2 separate regions of the Homo sapiens genome follow, and region 2 is linked to region 1. Evidence: promoter capture Hi-C in human tissues and cell types (Jung and others, 2019). All regions are on one chromosome and are shown on one strand. The core of a region is centred on a gene start or on the middle of the fragment in contact, and the rest is flanking DNA. Distances in the headings are between cores, read along the strand shown. Region 1 holds the start of OR2AT4 (olfactory receptor family 2 subfamily AT member 4). Region 2 holds the start of LOC124902716 (a long non-coding RNA gene).

Region 1 (7,862 bases), core at 1,454-3,953:
GCACAGCTGTGGCTCACTGCAGCCTGAACTTCCCAGGCTCAGGTGTTTCTCCTGCCTCAGCTTCCCTGGTAGCTGATGGGTCCGGAATTGGTGGGTTCTTGGTCTCACTGACTTCAAGAATGAAGCCACGGACCCTCGCGGTGAGTGTTACAGCTCTTAAGGTGGCGCGTCTGGAGTTTGTTCCTTCTGACGTTCGGATGTGTTGGGAGTTTCTTCCTTCTGGTGGGTTGGTGGTCTCACTGGCTCAGGAGTGAAGCTGCAGACCTTCGCGGGGAGTGTTACAGTTCTTAAGGCGGCGCATCTGGAGTTGTTCGTTTCTCCCGGTGGGCTAGTGGTCTCACTGGCTTCAGGAGTGAAGCTGCAGACCTTCGTGGTGTTACATCTCTTAAGGCAGCGCATCTGGAGTTGTTCGTTCCTCCTGGTGGGCTTGTGGTCTCGCTGGCTTCAGGAGTGAAGCTGCAGACCTTCGCGGTGAGTGTTACAGCTCATAAAAGCAGTGTGGACCCAAAGAGTGAGCAGTAGCAAGGTTTATTGCAAAGAGCGAAAGATCAAAGCTTCCATAGTGTGGAAGGGGACCTGAGCGGGTTGCCACTGCTGGCTCGCGCAGCCTGCTTTTATTCTCTTACCTGGCTCCACCCACATCCTGCTGATTGGTAGAGCCCAGTGGTCTGTTTTGACAGGGCGCTGATTGGTGCGTTTACAATCCCTGAGCTAGACACAAAGATTCTCCAAGGCCCCACCAGAGCAGCTAGATACAGAGTGTCCATTGGTGCATTCGCAAACCCTGAGCTAGACACAGGGTGCTGATTGGTGTGTTTACAAACCTTGAGTTAGATACAGAGTGCCGATTGGTGTATTTACAATCCCTGAGCTAGACATAAAGGTTCTCCACGTCCCCACCAGACTCAGGAGCCCAGCTGGCTTCACCCAGTGGGTCCCGCACCGGGGCTGCAGGTGGAGCTGCCTGCCAGTCCCGGAGCCATGCGCCCACACTCCTCGGCCCTTGGGTGGTCGATGGGACTGGGTGCTGTGGAGCACGGGGCAGCACTCATCGGGGAGGCGGGGGCCGCACAGGAGCCCAGGGAGGGGGTGGGAGACTCAGGCATGGCGGGCTGCAGGTCCCGAGCCCTGCCCCGCGGGAAGGCAGCTAAGGCCCAGAGAGAAATCGAGCACAGCGCCAGTGGGCTGGCACTGCTGGGGGACCCAGTACACCCTCCACAGCCGCTGGCCCGGGTGCTAAGCCTCTTATTGCCTGGGGACAGCAGGGCCGGCCGGCTGCTCTGAGTGTGGGGTCCGCCAAGCCCACGCCCACCCAGAACTCCAGCTGGCCTGCAAGCGCAGGCGCAGCCCTGGTTCCCACTCGCGCCTCTCTCTCCACACCTCCCTGCAAGCTGAGGGAGCCGGCTCCGGCCTTGGCCAGCCCAGAAAGGGGCTCCCACAGTGCAGCGGTGGGCTGAAGGGCTCCTCAAGTGCCGCCAAAGTGGGAGCCCAGGCAGAGGAGGCACCGAGAGCGAGCGAGGGCTGTGAGGACTGCCAGCACGCTGTCACCTCTCACTGAGACTACAGGTGCATGCCACCATGCCCAGCTAATTTTTTTGTATTTTTCAGTAGAGATAGAGTTTTGCCAGTTGTCCAAGCTGCTCTCTTACTCCTGGACTCAAGAGATCCTCCCCCTTCGGCCCGGCAAAGTGCTGGGATTACAGGCGTGAGCCACCACACCCGGCCTAGAACTTTCACTTTTGACTCAGTAAAGCTCTGTATTGATTAAAATGTTCTACAATGAGGTTCTGTTTATTACTTGTGAAATTAAAAAAAAATTAAAATTTTATGAGTATTAGTAGGAGTGACCAAGTCAGTCAAGTCAGAAACAGAACACTGGAGCCAAAGGAGAGAATCAGAAAGATTGAGGCAGGAAGAGTCTGTGACTCTTGACTTTGTCCTGTATGGGGTTGGGGCAGAGACTTCCACCCTCACATTCTTTCCACAAAACCTTTGCAAGTTCTCATTGCACAGCAGCGGAAGTATCACATACTCATTGAACAAGGCTTTACTGCTTTGGTCCATTAAAATAATAGCTCCCACTTATTGAATGCCTAATAAGTGGCAGGAACTGGGTGAAGCACCTCAACCTGCCCAGTTATCCTGTGAGAGAGTTAGTGTCGTTATACCCATTCCACAGATGACAAAATGAAGACCCAGTGAGGTTAAGGGATTTGTTCAAAGTCATATTACTGGGAATAACTCGGGTCTTAGTCATTAGATAACATGTTGCTGAACCACTGAACCAGAATTGGAGCCTTGGGTACAAATCCCAGCTCTGCCACCAGCCACTCATATGACCTTGGGCAAGTCACCTCACTTCTCTAGATCTCAGTTTCCTCAAATGTAAAATAGTGGAAATAATCCTGACTCTGCCTGTCTTCCCTGGCTATTGTGAGGACCAGATGGGAAAACAGGAATAATACTGGTGATAAAGTTCTGGGACCCATGAGGGTTGTTAATGATGTTGTTTTCATTATCAGCAAAGCCCAGAACAAAGTCCCCCACTCCACCCTCGGAAGTTGTTCTCAGCTGACTGGCAGTTATCTGGTCCCACGGGTGAGCCTTCTTGTGGGGAGAGAGCCCCAGCAGGCCTGGTTGCAGAGAGGGGCCCGAGGGTTTAAAGGGCCATGGTTGAGTTTCTACCTGGCTCTTCCCAACCAAGGCCAACTGTGACGACTCTACACAAGACATCAAGGCGGACCAGGATTGGTAGGTGAGCTGGGCTGGGGATGGAGTGCGCAGAGCAGGCAGAGACTGGGATGGGGAGATAGGCTCAGGGAGGTTGGGGGCATGTACAACCACAGTAAAGATCCTGGGAATGTCAGGGTCCCAGGATCCAAGTCAACCACGCAGTCAGCCTGGGTGAGTGTAGACCAGACACCCTCGCAGGCAGGGGCAGGGCTGTGCAGTCACAAGCAAGAGGCTAATGATCTTGGAAGAGAATTCCTCACAAGGAGGCAAAGCTGATGACGATAAGAGAAATGGGAATAATTTGTGAGGGAATTGCAGTCCATTGGAGGAAAGCACAAAGTGGTGGAGCCAGGAAGGAAACTCAGGCCTTTCTAACTGCAAAGTTAATAGACCTAGATTCTGTGCTTCACGTATATCCTGCTCCTTTTCTATGGAAACAGTGCAGGATGGTGAGAATATCATGAGAGAACTGCATGAGTTTGGGCGTCGTAATGATGTGTAATGACTGTAAAGAATCAAGCAGGCAACAGAAGCTTAACAAATGAGAGCGCCCTTGCTCTCCTTCCTAAGAGGCTGAGGCCATGACACATCTGTCTTCGAATCTCTCATTTATCTAAACACAGAGTAGATACTCAAAATATTTATCAAGCTGGAGATCATTGCTTCCAAAGTCCTCATTTTATAGATGGGAAAACTGAGGCTCAGAGACCCAGCATCACAGCAAGAGAGTGGCAGAGCTGGTCCAGGAGAGCTCAAGGTGAGTTGATAATCTAGCTCTGTTGACAGTCTAGTTCTAGTTCTATCACCCACTTACTGTGTGACCTTGGGAAAGTCACAGCCCATTTCTGGGACTCCCTTTTCTGTCCCCATCTATATAATAAAGAGGTTAGGTGAAATGCCAGCACTTTGGGAGGCCGAGGCGGGCAGATCACTTGAGATCAGGACTTCAAGACCAGCCTGGCCAACATGGTGAAACACCATCTCTACTAAAAATACAAAAATTAGCCGGACATGGTGGCAAGCGCCTGTAATCCCAGCTACTCGGGAGGTTGAGGCATGAGAATCGCTTGAACCCGGGAGGCAGAGGTTGCAGTGAGCCGAGATCGTGCCACTGCACTCCAGCCTGGGTGATAGAGCAAGACTCAATCTCAAAAAAAAAAAAAAAAAAGAGGTTAGGTGAAAACTATTTAATCACTAATGGCCCCTTCATTCCTATTTGATGATTTATCAGCAAAACAAGGCAAGTTGGAAAGCTGCATTCCAGAGCACTAAGCTCCTGGGAAGGATGGTGCAGTATCAAATAGAAACGATCAGACCCCATTACTGCTCTGAAAGTGCTCCTGGTGTGGTGGACACATAAATAGACAGAGACAACCTGGTGTAATCATAATAATGACAAACAGAAGCACAGGAACTTCAAGAGCCCAGGAAAGAGGCTCCTGAGCCAGCCAGGACCATAGAAGATCTCTTGGAGGAAGTAATATTTGAGCTGAATTTGGCAGAAGCACAAGGCAAGAGCAAGGAGTTGCCATTTGACTAGAATAAGGAGAAACAAGGCTGCAAGAAGACAGGCTTTGAATAGCAGGCTAAGGAATCATCCTCTCTCATGAAACATCCTACAAAGACTGGGTGGGAGCCAGGACACCGGCTTTAAAACCTACTTCTGCTATGAATTTGTTGGTTGACCTTGAAAAGACACTATTTCTGGACTTCAGACTCAGCATCTGTCTCCCTGCTGTTTAATAGAAGTGAGGGAGGAGGTGGGAAGAGAGGCTCAGTCAGGCTTGACGGCTCTGAATTTCTCCCCTCAAACCCCAATTCAGCCTAACTCGGTGGCATTCAATCCATAATTGACTTCTCTGAGCTGTAACAACGTTCAGAATAAGGTAGTTTGCATCTCTTTGGGTATTAGAAAAACCTGGTGATTTGCTTAGGCAGGTTGGGTCTGTTAACTGAGGGTTATCTCTTAAGTGGAGGTGCAGCAGTTTTGCTTTCCTGCTTGTGTAATTGGGGCCGAACTGTAGAATACTCTTTCAAGGGAGCATTCACAATGGAGTGGTCTGTCCCATGTGTCTTTTTGTTTATTTGTTTTGTTTAAAAGACAGGGTCTCCCTCTGTTGCCCAGGCTGGGGTGCAGTGGCATGATTATAGCTCACTGCAGTCTTGAACTCCTGGGCTCAAGTGATCCTCCTGCCTCAGCCTTCTGAGTAGTGAGACCACAGGCACAAGCCACTGTACTTGGCTAGTTTTAAAATTTTTTTGTAGAGACAGGGTCTTGCTATGTTGCCCAGGCTGGCCTCAAACTCCTGGTCTCAAGCAATTCTCCCACCTTGGTCTCCCAAAGTTCTGGGATTACAGGTGTGAACCCCTGTGCCCTGCCTCATATGTCTTTTAGAAAGACATTATACCTGCCTTCACTCTCTGACAGAAAACCAGCCCACCCCACACTTAGGAAACTAAAGAACAAACTCTGAAATTTGTAGTTTGCTGCTGACAATATCAGCCAAATATATGGAGAAGGAAAGAGAAAACCTTTGCCCCAGTCTCTCCCCTCATGAAAATTTGAGCTTCCAGATTCTCCAGGGAACCGACGATAGAAGAATGCTGCTCTGGGGGTTAGAGCCTGGGCTCCAGTCCTATCTCTGTGGCTCGCCGGCCATGACAGTATGGGAAAGCCCTGGATCTTTTTGTCTTTTGCCCTTTCTATATTAAAAGAAAAAGCTGGCTGGGTGCGGTGGTTCACGCCTGTAATCCCAGCTCTTTGGGAGGCTGAGGCAGGTGGATCACTTGAGGTCAGGAGTTCGAGACAAGCCCAGCCAACATGGTGAAACCCCGTCTCTGCTAAAAATACAAAAACTAGCTGGGCATGATGGCACATGCCTGTAATCCCAGCTACTCAGGAGGCTGAGGCACACGAATCACTTGAACCCGGGAGGGCAGAGGTTGCAGTGAGCCGAGCTTGTACCACTGCACTCCAGCCTGGGTGGCAGAGCAAGACTCTGTCTCAAAAAAAAAAAAAAAAAAAAAAAAAAAAAGAAAAAGAAAAAGAAAAAAAAGAAAAGAGAAAAGGAAAAGCCGCCTGGATATTTCCAGGTTTGGAATTTTTTATGATTCAATGGCATGAGAGATATTTTATTAGAGGTAAGAAAAATAGGGAAAATCAGAGAGAAGGTAATCATCAGATCATCAGGTAATCATCTTGGAATCATCAGGGTCAAGAGACAATGATGTAAACATAAACGTGAACTTCCTCCTGGATTGTTTATTCAGAGAGACATCCCCAACAGAGTAGAGCAGTCAATATTCTCCCTCAGTTAAAGATCTCCGGTTCTGTGGGAGGACAAAAGCACACATCTCTTCTTCCTTGACAGGGGGAGAACAACCTCTAGAATGGGGTCTTCTGCCTTTGGGCACTTGTCACAAGACGACTTGTTCTCTAGCAACAATGGCTCCCAAGACTCCCAAGTTTTCAGACTCCTGTAGTACTGTCTTATCTGGGGCTAGGGAAGACTACAGGATAGTGATAATGAAATGGTTAATCAGAAACACCTGCTGAACAGCGTAGCTGATAGGAGAGATGAAAAGTCATGCTCTTACAGAGGGACATCCTCCAATCTCTGTTTCTGCTATTGGGTAGAATACACCTTTAACTTAGATTCCAACCTGGAAGCAAGTCCTCTCACAAAAGGCATCTTTTGCCATTCCTTTTATTGTAATATGACAAAAAACATTTATTTATTTATTTTTGAGACAGAGTCTTGCTCTGTTGCCAGGCTGGAGTGCAATGACGTGATCTCGGCTCACTGCAACCTCCACCTCCCAGGTTCAAGCGATTCTCCTGCTTCAGCCTCCTGAGTAGCTGGGATTACAGGCGTGTGCTACCATGCCCAGCTAATTTTTCTATTTTTAGTACGGACGAGGTTTCACCATGTTGGTCAGGCTGGTCTCAAACTCCTGACCTCATGATCCGCCCGCCTCAGCCTGCCAAAGTGCTGGGATTGCAGGCATGAGCCACTGCACCTGACCTTATCTTTTTTTTTTTAATCTTATTTTTCATTTTTAAATTTTTTTGTAGAGACAGGGTTTTGCCATGTTGCCCAGGCTGGTCTCAAACTCCTGTGATCTGCCTGCCTCAGCCTCCCAAAGTATTAGGATTACAGGTGTGAGCCACCATGCCCAGCCTAACAAAAGCCATTTAGATGAACATCAGAAACAGAAAAATTTAATCCATGGTGACAGAAGTCACAACAATAGCTACATTGGGGGTAGCAGAATTTATTGGATCAGGTGCAAGGGAGCTTTCTGGGTTGCTGGAAATGTGCTATATCTTTAGCTGCATCACTAGCTGATCTATATCTCTACATAGATTTATATTTATATCTATAGATATCTATATATTATCTATCCCAAATATTTTTGGGCTTTATTGCACGTGAGTACCTTAAACAAATGAACAAACAAAAATAGCTGAATACCTTGTCTTACCTCTTGGTTATATATCCTGATGTGAAATTGCTAAGTCATAAGTTTAAGAAGATGTTGCCACACTGTTATCCGAAGTGGTTGTACTAGTTACCATCAATGTATGAAGGTACCAGTTACTACATATCTTACCAACACTTGCGGTCCTTTTAAGTTTAGCCATTTTAGTGAGTATGTATTATTAACATCCTGTATTTTAATTTACATCTCTAGATGGCTAATTTTTTCATATGCTTATTGGCCATTTGGATGTTCTCTTTTGTAAAGTGCCCACCTATTCAAGTCTTTCACCCATTTGTCCATTAGGTCATCTGTCTTTTTCTTACTTGTCAAGGTTTTTATATATACTGGATACATGGCCTTTGATAAATGTATTGAAAATAGGAAAATATCTTCTCCTAGTCTGGTTCCTGCCTTTTCTTATTCTCTTTGTATTGTATTTATTATTGTCTTTTTTGAGCGAAGTAAAATTTACTCAGAAGATAATGAGCAGATCTTATGTATACAATTCAATAAACTTTCGTAAACATACATGTAACCAAAACTCAACTCAATACATAGAACATTTCTATCACCCCAGAAAGTATGCTCTTGCCTGCTTCTTGTCAGTCCTCACACCCATAGACAATCACTGTACTGATTTATAA
Region 2 (7,862 bases), core at 1,173-3,672, 110 kb before region 1:
TCAGCTTCTAGAGCCACACAATTATGGAAAGTTCTAGTATTAAAATCATAGCACCTTAGCAGGGAAGAATTACAGAAATTATAGAATGGTAAAATATTAGAGCCAGAGAGCCAAAACTCCATATTAGACAATTTTAAAATCCAAGAATCTCAGTGTTAAAAAGGAAAAAAAGAACCCAATAATTTATTGATCCTGTCTATTTGCACTGGTCATGATGTTAGGAGTAATCTCATATGTTATCCCATTTAATTTCTACCACAAGTCTTATGCCATTCAGTCCCATACCTGCTCAAACCTTTGTCAGTAATACTGCGTTATCAAACACAAGCTTGCATAACCTTTATGACGTGGGAGTCATCACATCTGGGCATAGCTCTGCCGCCTGCCAAATTGTGCTAGAAAATTCTCCCTTATATAAGTTGCACTCTATCTCCCTATCATGCTCCCACACTGGTCCAGTTCATGTCCTCTGAGCTACCCCGAGTAAGTCTAATCTCCTGCTCACGTGACAGCTTTTCAGATGTCTAAAGACAGCCCTTATTTCTTTTTTCTCTAGGCTAAGCTGGCTTGTTGATCATGTAGCTAGAAATGGGACAGCAAATGAAAGAATATTTGAGCTTAAGAGGCCCTTAGAGGTCACCTTGTCTGGATACTTCCTTTTACTGCTAGGCAATATGGCTTTATAGTCAGGATCCTGGACCTCAAGTTTCTGGGCCTCAGTCTCCTTATCCCTAAAATAAAGATAATAGTGATACTGACATAACAGAGGTGTTGTGAAGATTGAATGAGATGATGCAAGGGAAGCTCTTAGAAGAGCACTGGGCACACAGTAAACAGCCAATAAATATTAGCTGTAATCATTGGAGGCCCAGGGGAGAAGGGACTTGCTCAAGATCACACAGCAACTCAGAGGCAGAGCTGGGGTTAGACCAAGGACGCCTGCCTCCCAGCCTGGGCCCTTTCCCATTCCACTCTTCCCTCTGTCTTCCTCAGAAAAAGAAAATAGTCCCAGAGGGAACCAGGATACTTTTCTCACTGAATCATTTAGGATGCAAGGAAGAGGTCACCTGCTTTAGAGTGGCTTAAACTTTTTATTTTTTAATGAGGCCAGAAGAAGTTGGAATGAGGATTGGTCTGCTGATTCAACAATGTCTTTGATGACCCAGGCATTTCCCATTCTGAGCCTCGAGGGTGACTACCCCTGTGATTGCAAGATGACTGAGTGCCATCAGGAACCATGTCCTCCCAAGCAGGGAGAAAGGGCATGGTAGCAAAAAGGGTATTCTCCCTTCACATCATTCTCTTATCCAGGAGAGAAGCTTTCCCAGCAGACTATCCCCAAACATGTCATTGACTAAGACGAGGTCACATGTCTACTCTTGGACCACTTTCTGGCAAAGGGGAAGGCATTTCCATTGCTGCCTTGGATCATCCCTGTGGCTGAGCACCTTGCTACCAGAATGAAGAAGAGAGCATTTGCCATGGGAAGGCAACCAATACAACCTGCCATACTCATCTTCTGTTTTCTCTCTGGATTGCCCTCCTACCTCCTCTCCATCTCCGCCAGGAAGTCTTCCCTGGTTGCCAGGGCCTTGTCCGGCACACCCTCTTCTAATGTAATTGAACATTGTTTAATTCAAGTTACATTTCACTTTGCCAAAGATTTCTCACCTTATCATGTCCAGATCTTATCTTCTCAACCAGGCTGTGATAGGTCATTGCAAGAGTTATAGCAGCGACTAATGAATAAGTACCTACTGTGTGTCAGGCACTGGTCTGAGTGCTTGTTGTAGCCAGCTTCCAAATGGCTCCCAATGATCCATACCCCCTGGTATTCATGCCTTTTTGTATTCCCCTCCCACATTATACCAGGGTTTGTCTACATGACCAAGAGAATATGGCAAAAGTTACGGTATGTTTCTTCCAATATTAGATCATAAAAGGCACATGGAATCAAAGCTTTTGGTCAACTGCCAACAAGGTACAGAGGCCCAACAGCAATCATCGAATGAACTTGGAAGTGGATCCTCTCACCCCAGTTGAGCCTTCTGATGACTGCAGCCCTGGCTGATGCTTGACTACAACTTCATCAGAAATCCTCATGAAGATCCAGCACCTTCCAGTTAGCCCATCTGTGGGTTCTTGACCCTCAGAAATTCTATGAGATAATAAATATTTGTTGTTTTAAGTTGCTAAACTTTGGGAAAATTTATTTTTTGGTTTTGGGGGGTTTTTTGAGGCAGGGCCTTGCTCTGTTACCCAGACTGGAATGCAGTAGTACAATCACTGCTCACTGCAATCTTGACTTCCTGGGCTCAAGCAATCCTCCCACCTAAACCTTACAAGTAGCTGAAACTACAGGTGTGGGTGCTACCACCCTTGGCTAAGTTTCTTTTTATTATTATTATTATTTTTTGGAGAGATGGGGCCTCACTGTGTTGCCCAGGCTGGTCTCAAACTCTGGGGCTCAAGTGATCCTCCTGCCTCAGTCTCCCAAATGGCTGGGATCACAGGTTTGAGCCACTGTGTCAGCCAGAAAATTTATTACTCAGTAGTAGATTACTATATTGCTACTTTATCACATTAAATCCTCTCAACGATTCTGATAGGTGAAGCTTATTTATCCCTTTTACAGATGAGAAAACCAATGCTCCGATGAGTGCAGTGACTTCCCATGCCTGGTAAGTGGCAGAGCTTGGATTGACCTTCCTGTCTGTTGGATTCCAAAGCAGAGGGACCTGGGTTCTGTTTTCCCAGCTGGAATGTCCCCAGCTGCAGGATGAAGGCTGAGGAAATGGGGACATAAAAAGGAAACCTCTTTCTCTGATGTGTTTTCTCTCCTCCCCCCTTTTTTCATCCCAACCACATTAGTTAGCACTTACTACATCTATTGTACATATGTGATTCAGGGACAAGTAGGTTTATTAGCAACAACATGGGAGCCTTAGGAGGGGGATACCTGGGCTCTTGAGTGACCTTGGGCAAGTTTCTGCACTTTTCTGGGCCTCAGTTTCTTTACCTACTACATGGCAATAATAATCCCTTTCCTGCCTTCTTCACCAGGAAACCATGAGGACGGGGTGTAAAGGGACTGTGTAAAATGTGAAATGTAGTGAACACTAAAAGGTGTGTTTGGACTAAGGAGCACCCCTGACCTAGGGCTCAGACCTGTACAGCCACCTCTGTACAGAGGTGAGGGCTCCCTCTCCTCTCTCACCTGGGGCTAGGTTCGGGAGGTGGACAACACTGAGTGGCATTGAGAGCATCAACCCACTTTCTTCAGCCTCACCCTCTCCATGCCTTCTCTCTTAGGCCATGCTGCAGCCCTGCTAAACTAGTGGAAATACCCCAAGCCTGCCAGGAGGTTTCTGTCTACTTTGTCTGTGCAGTTTCTTCTGCCTTGACACCCTTCCCAACTTCTCTTCCTGGTGCATTCCCACTCGTCTTTCAAGACTGACCTTAGATATCCCACTTCTAGGATGCCTCTCCTGACCTGGCTGTAGTCCTCCTACTTCTCTTGATTGTTGCACCTGCCCCCTGCCTGAGCTCTTGGCCTTCAGCTTCTCTTTTCCACTCAAAGCCCCCATGGTGCAACCAGCGGCCTTTCCAAAATGCAAATCTTGTCATGTCACTCCCTGCTTAAAATAACTGGCCAATGGAATAATCCATCAATCAGTGCTTCAGGGGTTCCTCCTTGCCCTCAGGGAAGCATCCACACCTTCAGCTGGGTCTCCATGCTTGGTCCCTGCTGGTCTTTCCAGCCTCTGCTCTCTTCTGTCTCCTGATTGCCCTGCACATGCAGTGCCCTCCAGCCACATTGCTCTTGTCACTGTATCTCAGACACACCTCTCTCTATCTTTGCTCGTCCTGTTGTTTTTCCTGCCCATTTCCACCTTGTCCACTTGAGGAAGTCCTGCCTAATCCTTAACACCAGGTCTGATATAACCTCTTGGAAGCCTTCCCTATTGGCCCCAGGAAGAGTCCTTGGCTTCCTCTTCTTCCCTCTCCTGTATGACTACTCATGCTTTTGTTACTGTTTGTCGTCTGTTTACACTGAGAGTTTCCTGAGTAGAGACTGTATCTGACACATGGTTGTGTCCCCAGCAATGCCAGGAGAAGGGCACAGAGCAGACATGTAGGATATGTGTTGCTCATGTGAGTGGCTGAATGAATGAAGGAAGGAAGGGTGAATGAATCCAACCTTGAACCATCACTTCTTGGCCAGCCCTAGAACTGCTGTTTCCCAGGGTAAGCCCATTTGATAGCCAAAGGGGAAGTAGAAGGGAGGGACTGCTCTAGGAGGGAGAAAGAAAATCAATAAAAATGTAAATCTGGTTGAGAAAAGCTGTCCCAAGCTGGCTGTGGGGAGAGATAAGACTGGGCTGGCTGAGCCCTGGCTGACAGTGGAGGAGAGATTGGGGACAACGGAGCTGTGGCCAGGGTAGGGCAAAGGAGGTGTGTTCCTCCCTCTGTTGTCACTTCCCCCTCCGACTCTGATGCTCTATGTGTTTATGAAATTTTTTCAGGGACAGAAGGGGAAGGGAGCTTACAAATCCTGATCATCAGGTGTGGTGCCTGTGAGCATGTACATGATCTTACCCGGTCCTCACAGCTTCTGGGAGATAGGAGCTAGGCATGCTCAACCTCACTTGCAGGTGAGCAAACTGAGGTGCAGAGAGGTTAAATCATTTGTTCATCGTCACACTGTAATAAGTGGCAGAGTCAAGATTTGATCCCAAGTCTGACTCTCTCCACAACTCTATAATCTTTTCACTCCATTAAGGGCTTTTGACTGGGGACCTGGGATGCTTAGGAGGTCTACACCCAGGCATCATATGGTCTTCAACCTCTGAAATCATATGCACAATTGTGTATATGTCTCTGTGTGTGTGTTTTGTTTTATATTTAGTGGAGAGTCTATGCCTTTGATTGGATCCCCAGAGGTGGTTTTCACTTGCCCCCCATTGCCTATACCATGTTGCCTTCCTGGAGTTGGTGGCCTTTGAGCTGGGCCTGGAAGATTGGGTAGGACTTTATGAAGTGGGGATGGAGAGACAAGCTGTGCGATGGGGATGAAGAAGATAACCCAGGTCAGAGGGAACAGCATAAGCAAAGGTATGTGAAGGGGAAAGAATTCAACACCTCCAGGCAATGGTGAGGATGTCGCTGAGTTCTCTTTCACTTATCTGCATGTCAGTCATGACCCCTGGATGCCAGCTCCTGATGGGTCATCTGCCTACCCTAGAACTTCCCAGCATCTAGCATCCCAGACCTTCCCAGAGTCTACAAGAAAAGAAACCTAGGCATCAGGATGTCAGTTCTGGTCTGAGTCCTGTCCTCTGCTGACTTTACACCAGCACAATCTAGCAGGGAGACTTAATGTCTTCTCCTCCCAGCTTCCTGGTACAGTGTAAGAAAGTAAGCTTGCAGATGCAAATGCTTGTGGCTCTTCATTGACCAGAGGCTATATTAGGGGAGAGGACTTCCCTGGGACCCCCACAGGGCCTGGAAAACCCCTCTGGCCCTGACTTGCTCCACCCCTTGGCTCTTGACCCATTTCTCTCTTGGGTAACTCCTGAGTCTCCTCACCATGTCCAGTTTGGAAGACTTTAGGCACAAGGACCTCGTCTTTTCCTTCAGATCTTGGCTCAACCAAGAGGCGGACTCACCGTGATGTGAATGCAGCTTGAGCATCCAGGACTCTCCCCAGATCCAGGGAGGGCCTCAGCGATGTGTTCACGTTGTCATATTTTTATAAAATTTGCAAAGGTAAGATACTTTAACCACAATCAAAATTACTATTTTCTTCCCACTCCAACTTCCCTTGTGTTTCAATTTTCCTTTATGTGGGATAATTGGAGTGGCCATGGGCACTTCTGGGATCTGACCAAGGGGAAGCTGAGTGGGGGACTGATTTGAGTTGGGTTCACTGGGATATGTTTATGTGGTTTTCTGAAACAGAGGATATATTAATATTTATGTGGTTCTCTGTGTATAGATAAATCATTGCTAGTAATCTCTGTGTAGAGAATAGCTTCTAGGAATTCTACCCACTGCCCAGCTCACTTGGCATGGTGATATTAAGTTGCCATATGCAGAGGTCATATCGTGATATGAATGTGTGTCATGGCACCCAGCCCAGGAAGTATATGGGCAGTAGACAAGAAACAGGAGAAACCAGGTTTGAAATGTACAGAGCCAGAAGCTAGTCTGTGGAAAATTCTTCTAATCATCAGGGGGAGAAAATGTGTCTCAGAGGTTAAGCAGGGCAGTTAATAAAAGTATTACGCATTTTGGGGGGATTGTGTGATGTATCTGTTTTGATTTCTTTTCTCATTATAGGTAAATATAGGTACCTTGTACCTAATTTTATATTCATAATTTTGTATATTTTTCTTAAAGAGGGCTCCTCAAATTATAAAACCTTCAGTTCCCACAAGGTCTACACATCCAACCTTGGCTCCATCATTTATTTTCTGTGTGATCTTGGGGAAGTCACTTGTGCTTTCTGAGCCAGTTTCCTCTTCTATAAAATGTGAATGACAATTTGGACAGGTGAGGATTCAGAAATCCTCATGACCTTATTCCATTTTTGAAACCATTAGTAGACGAAGACACTCAAACAAAAATTAGACCAGAATATAAAGATTGGAAAAGATGTAATATACAAGCAATAATGGTGAGCAATGAATCCAGTAAAACCTAAATCTAAGTTAATGGAAATGATGTGGTTGTTGCAAACCTCTAATGCAGTTTATGAAGAAAGAATTTTTGTAATAGAAGAGACATTATGCAAGAACAAATTTAATAATAAGCTGTATCTATAATTCCAGACTTTTTTTCCCTGCAAAACCTGGGAAACAAGAGGGATGAAGGAATATAAACATCCTAAAAGCCTCATATTGTTGAAGGAGACTTTGAAATTCTTGGCGTTGATAGATACATGCTCAGATATTTATTAAACATTTACAGATACCAACCAGCAAAATAAAAAGGGAATTGGAACTTCTGTACCTCCCTTTTCTTTTATCATGTGGGAAAGTCTCAAAGCCCTGGCACTGGGAGCTGCTCAGAAGGCAAGGGCCACATGTGCCCCCAGCTTCCCCCCACCCCCAGCACAGGGCCAGGAAGCCACTGCTGGTGGCTCCCTGTCTGCTGCCTCCCGAGCAGTAGGTCCCAGCGAGGTGGGGTGGTAATAGGTTGGGCTGGGAGCAGATTAGCAAACCCTCTCCTCCCCGCAAGGAAATAACCAGGCCAGATAAGACTAGCCATAAAACAAAACAAGGGCTGATGTAGAAAAGGATTGGATCATAAGACACGAGCAAGCCATAGCATCACTCATTACACAGAGCTGAGCTTTACTGCTCCCAGCACTACAGTCCTGGGCCTGACACCAGCCCAGGCATCGGAGAACCAGGTGCCACCCCCAAAAAACAGTGTCACAGAACTAAACATTATCCACACTGCCCCAGGTGACACAGACCCAGGCACCCAGGAGAAAATAGAGAAATTAGGATCCTAGTCACAAAGGTCACAGGGACTTTGGTGGCCCCTGGTCACATGTGTGAAATCTTGGCAATGTGTAGGAATCAGTGAGTGCGCGCTGAGTGTGTGTTTGTCTGAAATTAGAAAATACCCAAGTGTGGGCCTGAGTCTCCCTCCCTACCCCAGGGCCCAGACTTGCCCACCCAGGGCCCTAAGGCAGGTGTTGGGCCTCACCCTCAACCGTGGCTCCCTGAGGGCAAGGGCTAGAATTTCCTGAGATGGAGAGTGAGTCTCCCCGCTTCAGCTAAGGATTCCTGGGGCCCCCACACAGGCCTCTTGAAGGCCCTGCCAAGTCTGGGTGTCCCACTCCTGAGGCC

What was found. Contacts are between HindIII fragments. The study calls those that stand out against the background at their distance.
Region 2: a contact is called between a fragment that was not itself captured here and the fragment with the promoter of OR2AT4 in region 1, in 2 of the 25 tissues and cell types used here (IMR-90 fibroblasts and lymphoblastoid cells).

What each region holds. Positions count from the first base shown.
Region 1 is chr11:75,091,717-75,099,578 of GRCh38, reverse strand. OR2AT4 (olfactory receptor family 2 subfamily AT member 4) reads left to right here and starts at 2,703. Exons shown (of 2, transcript NM_001405852.1): 1 at 2,703-2,751. RefSeq lists a cis regulatory region at 2,329-2,844. The HindIII fragment of the contact is 12,596 bases long and covers 1,911-7,862 here.
Region 2 is chr11:75,205,181-75,213,042 of GRCh38, reverse strand. It overlaps TPBGL-AS1 (TPBGL antisense RNA 1), which reads left to right. Exons shown (of 6, transcript XR_950308.4): 5 at 2,636-2,681; 6 at 4,910-7,005. LOC124902716 (a long non-coding RNA gene) reads right to left here and starts at 2,220. Exons shown (of 2, transcript XR_007062782.1): 1 at 2,035-2,220. It overlaps SLCO2B1 (solute carrier organic anion transporter family member 2B1), which reads right to left. Exons shown (of 14, transcript NM_007256.5): 14 at 6,494-7,862. The HindIII fragment of the contact is 3,195 bases long and covers 825-4,019 here.